Linked DNA regions of Homo sapiens: region 2 is linked to region 1. The links are contacts of gene promoters, found by promoter capture Hi-C in blood cells and fetal thymus (Javierre and others, 2016). All regions are on one chromosome and are shown on one strand. The core of a region is centred on a gene start or on the middle of the fragment in contact, and the rest is flanking DNA. Distances in the headings are between cores, read along the strand shown. Region 1 holds the start of KIAA0825. Region 2 overlaps SREK1IP1 (SREK1 interacting protein 1).

Region 1 (4,254 bases), core at 1,158-3,657:
ATCAAATACACATTAGTATTTCAGGCTAGCTATACCTATACAGTTGTAAAACAGGATATTCTTTAGAATTAACTTCTATGTCATTTCTAGTATTGGTCATTTCAACTAAATTTTTGTAAATTCTCTGAAAATTAGGCTATTTCTGTTTCTCTATATAGAATTGGGTATTGGGATGGGCAGGTTTAATAAAGCATATTCCTGAAACTATGTGATAATCCCCATCTGTTTGAGGGTTACGTGAGTGGAACAGCACAGTTTTGCTAATAATTCCTTATAAATCATTACAAAGTTGAATTTTATGAATTTGTGCTCATTTACTCATTCTTTCTCCCTACACACACACACACACATGCACACACAAATATACATGTATACAAATGTGTGTGTGAAAAGCTGTCTAAAGAGATAGTTAGCTGATACTCTGGACTCAGTCACCAATATGCTTGCTGATGGTCTCCAGATCTTCTGCATTTGCCCCAAGTGTTATGCTAATGTACAGTATAGGCATTTGTTTGAATTAGGATAATAAAACTGGCCAAGGATAAAGGCACTAAAGAAACTGCATTATTTAGATGTCAAAATTACCTTATGGTGATGAACACATCCCTTAAGTCCCTTTTATCCTCAAGTTTTGCTATCCACTTGATTTCTAAATGTGACATACTATCTATCCATTTTTACCTGGAGTGAAAATAATGATACTGTTATGTTTACTTATAAAGGTATAGAGCACAGTAAAAAGAGCCAAAATTTAGAGTCAGGTAGACTGGATTCAAATTTTAATTGTGCCATTTAATTGTATAATTTATGGAAAATCACAACCTCTTTGGGTCTCAGTATAAAATGTTTTGCAAAATAGAAATAATACAATTTTTGTGATTTTCTTTTTTTATTAAACATTAAATAAAATAATAAATGTAAAGTGCCTGGCAGACAGTATCTACTTGGGGTAAGTATTAATGATTGGCTACATTCAAGAGCAATTCAAAGAGAGAAATCACTGCCTCTAAAAACTAGTTGCTGTACAGATATAATACATAATATCCCTGAAGTAATTTATAATACTTTCAACTGGAGAAATAAAGAAAAAATACAAGATTCAACAAAATGTCAAGATTGGGATTAATGGGGCGATTATAAGTTTGTTGAATTATTAACCAACAAGGCCAGAAAATCAATGTGCTGTCCTAAATATGGTTTGTTGCATTACTCTCAAAAGGTTAAGAAGACACTGGCCTGGTGTTAACAGGGGCCTTGAATTGAACATATTGCATTTTTCTTTATCGGTATGCTCCGATAAAGAAAATGTTTTTATGGGTATGAGGAGCATACCCATAAAAAAAATGCAATAGTACCTACAACTCTTTCGGGAACTGACTGTTTTGAAAAAATAACAGTCAGCTGCCTTTTACGGGGGTTGGTGGGGAGGTAATTATCTAAATATAAGGTGGCAAGTGAAAACTAGTTACCTAAGAAATTGCATTACTTAAGAGAAGTCGCCAAGGTTCACTACATCACATCTTTCAAATCTTAAATGAGCACCTTTCCTCACATTATCCCTTTGTCGGAAGCAATTTCTCTTTACAACTATTCTGGCTACCTCAGACCTCCATCCAAAATTCTCCTGAATCCTTCATTATCGACAAAGCCTGGAGCAGAACGCAAGCATTCCTTTCTGAAAGCACACATACTTACTGATCACTGCTTTCCAAAAATGCATCTAATGCCCAAGCATGAAATTACAAGCTTGTTCTCTTATGTCTCAGCCATGAAAACAAAGACCGTTCTTCTCATCCAATTCAAATGGCGGGAGGAACCTTCAATTAATTCTAAATCAGGAAGGAACCTCCCCATCTCACTTCCTAAATGTTTGTAAAAGATGTCTTCTTCAGCCAACCTCCTGCCTTCCAGGCACGGCACCCCAGAACTACGGAAACAGTACTCAGGAATCAAGAGTGGCCAAACGCTGCCAATGGGAGATAGGAAACTCGTTGATCATTGGTAGAGAAACTCGGCACAACGCCGAGTCACGGTACACGGTGTCTTCGGCCTCGCCCAGGGACACTTGGTGACCCGAGGTCGAGTTCCAAGTCGGAGACAGATTTTGCGAGTGGATAAGACGGTAAGCCGGGATCCCAGGGCCTTCTCCAGCTGCACTGGGTGTCAAGCGCCACGGGGTTTGATGGGGACTCCTTCTGGTTCCACCCTCGCCCACTCACTTCTCGGGCTGGCCATAATGCTGCACAGAGCCCCGGCCAGCCATTAATATCAGGCGCAGGAGAAAACCCAGTAAAATCACTTACCAGTCTTCCACCTCCGGTGCTGATCTAGCAAGAGCCTGACCCGCTGGCCAGACTCAAGCTCTGCACCAGGTATTACCACCCTGGCGACGGCTCCGGAGCGTCACTGACAACCACCCGGAAATGGTACTATCGCTTCCGGGGCTGCCTAGCGCGCGGCGGGAAATTGTTTCCCAGAGCCCGGATTCGTGAAGCAGTTGAGTGCTGCAGCGGCAGTCGTCGCCCCTGCCGCCGCTGCCACCGAAGGAAGCATCCCAGACACCGGGAAGGTAAAGGGGCTCAGCTAGGAAGACACAGTGTATTCTGTCTCTGTGGGGATGTTTCTTCGCCGGGCGGTACCTCCGAAGTTTCTGCCTCCCGGCTGTGAGGCTAGGAAGGAAGCGGCTGGGGTGAGCGGCAGCGGTGTCTGGCTCTCGCGCTTTCTCCAGCTGCAGTTCGTTCCAGCTCTCCCGACTTCGCGCTCGGCGCCGGAGTTGGTGGGCTGCAGCTGCAGACCCCGCGACGCTTCGCCCGTGCCGCTGCGGGGACTGCCACCGAGCGCCCCTCTGCAGTACTGGGCTGAGCCACTTCCCCCGCTTCTGCTTGCGCAGCTCTGCCGCTCGGCCCGCCGCCTGGAAGGCGCTAGGCCCCCCGCGTCTCTCGTTTCCATAGAACCCATGGGGACGCCTCATCCTGATACCAGAATTTTGGCTGCTTTCCATAACTTAGCGTCTGCGAAGGTGGCTGGGATACCCCAGGCCCACTTTCCTGTGACGAAGAAAATTGTGTCATTCTTTCCTCTCTAGTAGAATTTTTTTTTTTTAAACTGCTAAAACGGCAGTGATCCTATCTCTGACTGCTATAGGCCTTTAAACACAAACATACACACATACACTTTTCGCTGAAGGGAGGGTCTGTGTTCCTGGGGTTTATATTTCAGCTGCCTGAAGGCTGGAAACAAGACTGAGTGGCTATTTTAAGATTTCTTCCACTTCCAAAGCCTCAGATTAAATATTGACAAAAAAAAAATTGGTCCGTCTCGGGTACTTCATATCATTATTTGACTCAGGAGTTAGATGGAGCTTGATTTTGGAGGCGCCAGCCTCTTTTTTGACGAATGACTTTATTAAAAAATTTTGTTGTTGTTGTTGAAATATTGGGAATGAACATTTGAACTGAATTTACAATGTATGTGTGACAGACAATGCACCTTGTGGACTTTTTGGTTTATGTTATTCCGTTGTGCCTCAATTCTTGGAAATACCTGTGGATGTGCAAGATGTTCTCATTATTGGAAAGTTTGATTACGTATATTGCAGGTGTTCAATACCTAAGTTGCTAGTATGAGGTGAATTTATATTAAAGAGTATATTTCTTTATTTTCTTTTCTTACCTTTCCTTCCTTCCTTTGCTTTCTTTCTTTCTTTGACAGAGCCTTGCTCTGTTGCCCAGGCTGGAGTGCAGTGCCTATCGGCTCACTGCAACCTCCGGCTCCCAGGTTCAAGCAATTCTCCTATCTCAGCCTCCCGAGTAGCTGGGATTACAGGTGCGCGACACCACGCCCGACTAATGTTTTGTATTTTTAATAGAGACAGGGTTTCACCATGCTGTCCAGGCTGGTCTCGAACTCCTGATCTCAAGTGTTCCGCTCGCCTCGGCCTCCCAAAGTGCTGGGATTACAGGCGTGAGCCACCGGGTAACTCTTGAGTATTCTTAATTTAAAGGAACTAGGATGTTCAAATACTTGAATGTTTAAGTCAATTTTATTGTAAAGACAGCGAACCTTCAGTACTGCAAATAAACCCCTATTCTGTTTTCTAAATCCAGATTTTATTATGCGTTATTAAGTAAAATTGAATTATATAACCTAACATTTTCTTGCTTCCCTAAAGCATAAAGCGTGGATCACGTGAAAGTCATTGAAAAGATGATCAAATGTGGTTACTTTTCATAATCAAAATTCAGAACTGAAGAT
Region 2 (3,810 bases), core at 563-3,062, about 30 Mb before region 1:
AAAAAATAGGCTAAATGAGTTTCTCAATGCAAGTATTCTGAAATAGCAGATGTCTTAATAGTCCATTAAAAATGCCTTCATAGGCCAGGTGTGGTGGCTCACACCTGTAATCTCAGCACTTTGGGAGGCTGAGGTGGGTGGATCACTTGAGGCCAGGAGTTCAAGACCAACCTGGGCAATATGGTGAAACTCCATCTCTACTAAAATTCCAAAAATTAGCCAGGCGTGGTGGTGGATGCCTGCAATCTCAGCTGCTCAGGAGGCTGAGGCATGAGAATCACTTGAACCCAGGAGGCGGAGGTTGCAGTGAGCTGAAATTGCATCACTGCACTCCAGCCTGGGTGACAGAGCGAGACTCTGTCTCCAAATAAATATATATATAAACAAATAAAAATTAAAAAAAGGCTTCATAATCATTTGACTCCAAAAGGAGAACTAGCAAACCAATCAAAGAGCTGTTTACTGATATGAGATTTATACTGATATGAAATGTATAAAACTCTTTAGTCTACATGCCTCACAAAGTACAATTAATCCGTGAAGAAAAAAGGTGTAAGAAGAGACAGAGAGGCTGGGCGCGGTGGCTCATGCCTGTAATCCCAGAACTTTGGGAGGCTGAGGCAGGCGGGTCACAGGGTCAGGAGATCTAGACCATCCTGGCTAACATGGTGAAACCTGCCTCTACTAAAAATACAAAAAATTACCCGGGTATAGTGGCATGTGCCTGTAGTCCCAGTTACTTGGGAGGCTGAGGCAGAAGAATCACTTGAACCCGGGAGGCGGAGGCTGCAGTGAGCCGAGACAGTGCCACTGCACTCCAGCCTGGGCGACAGAGCGAGACTCCGTCACCCCCTCCCCCAAAAAAAGAAAAAAAAAATAGAAGAGACAGAGAAATTTGTTTAAGAAGAGACAGAAATTTAATTACCTAATGAAACAGAATGAAGACTGTATTAGCTTAATCTGTTTAGTACTATTTCTGCTCAGCAGCAGTTATAGTAATCAACCCTCTAATTATTCATTATTTACCTATGATGGGTATAACTTTGAACTCGATGTTAGAGAAGCCATAGGGATGAATCAAGCCCCTACAGGGATATCCAATCTTCTGGCTTTGCTGGGCCACACTGTTTTGGGCCACACTTGCACTGTACTTTTACAGCACTGTCACACCTATTATCTCAATTTTTGCTGGGTTTAAACAGTTTATCTATACCTTGCCATCCAACTTAATGGCACAATTTAACATTATTATACTTTGAAGCATTATTTTGAATTGAAAGAAGGTTAACATAACAGTGGTGTGAGTTTAAGAGAATTTTAATAAGGGCTTAAAAATCACTTTTGTCCCCTTTCTTAAGTAGTATTTTCATGTATTGCTTAAAGTTTTATGAGGGCATAAACTATAGAATACACTGAAATACACTAACACTAATAATAGCTGATGAGCTTTAAAAAAAAAATCACAAAAAAACTCATAATGTTTTAAGAAAGTTTACGAGTCTGTGTTGGGCTGCATTCAGTCGTCCTGAGCTGCATGCAGCCCATGGGAAGCGACACTATACTAGTTTATCTATGGTAATGCAACCACAGCTGTAATCCATGATAGAATGTGCCAGGTTCCATAAAAGACACAGAGCTCTATTTAATAAGCATGAAGAAGTGGCAGGGAAGAGTTTCAGCCAAGAGATCAGGAAAGCTTCCCATAGGTAGTTACAGGCAATATAGGAGGTAATAACAAAGGCTCGTAGGTAGGAAAGCACTTGAGAGGTTCACAGAATAATTGGCCAAGTCAGATTTTTGCAGGATTGTAGAATGCATGAGGGGAGTGGTGGAAGGAAAGAGTAGAAAGAGTGATTTGGTCATGCTTGGGAGTGTGCACTGCATTCTCGCAGAGAGAGATGGGGAGACTTGGCATTTTTAACACTTTAGAAGCTTAAGAAACCTTAGCCTTCAACTCCATTATGGAGACACAAAAACTGAACCTCCAAAAGGTTAAGTGGCTTGAAGAGAACTACAAAATTCACAGATAGGGGTCAAGAACTAAGTTCATGCCTCCCACCAATGATAGGATCAGATATATGATTCAGGAAAATTATTTTAGCAGCAATGTGCAATATAGACTAGAGAGAAAACAAATTACCTATAGTCTAGTTTAGGAATAAAGAAAAATTGGATGTAATTGAGAATTCTTCTATTACTAAGATACTATCATAATGTGTTTTAAAAATCTTATTCACTGTGATGTGCCAGACTGAAATGTTAGCTTGGCCACAGAAAAATTCCCTACCTTGGCTATAGGGCTTCAGTGAAGGAGATAATAAGAAAACAGTTTTGTGCCAATTACATCAGTAACATACGTTGCCACTTGTGCCAGTTCAGCTCTTCATGGAGAGTGGTGAATCACTGACATGAATGTTGGAGGTAATTTCAACAACTGTGAATGGGAAAAGCAGTTTTTTCAAAGAAAGTAAATTTCACTGAAACCTGTGATCAAATATTATTTCTATAATAACAACTAAGAGTAAGATTTTCCTAAATGCCTACATTTCATTGCATTACCTACATAATGGTATACGCTTATACACAATGCTATGGAAACACGGGTGAAGCACATGATCATAAAACAGACAAGGCTGATTTTTATGTGTGGTTTGCAGAAAGCAGCCTTGTTACTTTATAATCATACCTTGTCATAATCACTAGCAGGACCACCCCAAGAAATGCCAAACTGAATCCATTAAACCTAAAATTAAAGAGCCTAACATAATACTTGTCCTCCTTGATGATAACCTTGAAAAGTTTAGATTAGCCCTATTTTCCTTTAATACCCTGTCTGGATCGATCATCTAAGAAATTATCTTACGATTTTCTGTATCTGTATTTTCTAATGACACTTGCATTGTACTTTTACAGCACTGTCACACCTATTATCTCAATTATTGCTGGGTTTAAACAGTTTATAGCTTGCCATCTAGCTTAATGGCACAATTTAACATTATTATACTTTGAAGCACTATTTTGAATTGAAAGAAGGTTAACATATCTATAACACTGGTCTAAGTTTAAGAGAATTTTAATGAGGCCTTAAAAAATCACTTTTGTCCCCTTTCTTAAGTAGCACATTTTCATGTACTGCTTAAAGTTTTATGAGGGCACAGACTATGACACTGTGTCCTCCAGTGTGCCCATATCACACAGGTGCCCAAAAGGCTTGCTCAAGTAATGAAATGAGCAGTGATAACAGGTCAACTTTGGGTGCAGCTGTGTGGTATAAAGATCACTAGAGCTGACTCGGCCTATCAGGATGCCTAGGCAATCTACTGTGTAGGTTTATCTTTCGCTGCTGGCCTCTTAGATGTTGACCAGGCTTCAGCCACAGACCTTCCCTTCACATTCTACACACCATCTAAGCAGAGTGCTCCACTCCCATAGCCTTACCTCCTATTATGTGTGTGGGTAACACCCAAATCATTGTCTTTGACTCTGACTTCTTTCCTAAGCTACAAATTATATCTCTTACTATTAACTATTTGCATTCCTATGTCTGACTAACCTCAACACAACAAGCCCCAGACTGGATGTCATCATCATCCCCTTAACCCCTGCCCCTTGTGAGGTGTTGTCATGTCAGTAAACAGCCCCACCCAATTGCTTAACAGTAAAACCCAGGTAAACCTCATTTCCTCTTTTACCTACCCACACTGAATCAATCACCAACTCCTAGTGACTCTACCACCAAAAATGTATCTTCAATTTATCCACTTCTCTCCTTACCTATTGAGACCACATCTCAGCCACACATCATTATAA

Evidence for each region. The method cuts DNA at HindIII sites, captures the fragments that hold promoters and counts their contacts. A CHiCAGO score of 5 or more calls a contact.
Region 2: a contact is called between a fragment that was not itself captured here and the fragment with the promoter of KIAA0825 in region 1, in 5 of 17 cell types (total B cells, total CD4 T cells, naive B cells and 2 more). The highest score is 14.1, in total B cells.

The regions. Positions count from the first base shown.
Region 1 is chr5:94,616,197-94,620,450 of GRCh38, forward strand. KIAA0825 reads right to left here and starts at 2,408. Exons shown (of 21, transcript NM_001145678.3): 1 at 2,304-2,408. SLF1 (SMC5/6 complex localization factor 1) reads left to right here and starts at 2,473. Exons shown (of 21, transcript NM_032290.4): 1 at 2,473-2,569. RefSeq lists enhancers at 1,422-2,286, 2,025-2,204, 2,515-2,694, 3,085-3,194. The HindIII fragment of the contact is 3,766 bases long and covers 1,745-4,254 here.
Region 2 is chr5:64,762,688-64,766,497 of GRCh38, forward strand. All of the region lies in intron 1 of SREK1IP1 (SREK1 interacting protein 1), which reads right to left. LOC124900985 (a long non-coding RNA gene) reads right to left here. Exons shown (of 4, transcript XR_007058787.1): 2 at 2,288-2,434. Among named protein-coding and RNA genes, the nearest start is that of SREK1IP1, 4.1 kb to the right of the region's middle. RefSeq lists a silencer at 3,553-3,692. The HindIII fragment of the contact is 236 bases long and covers 1,695-1,930 here.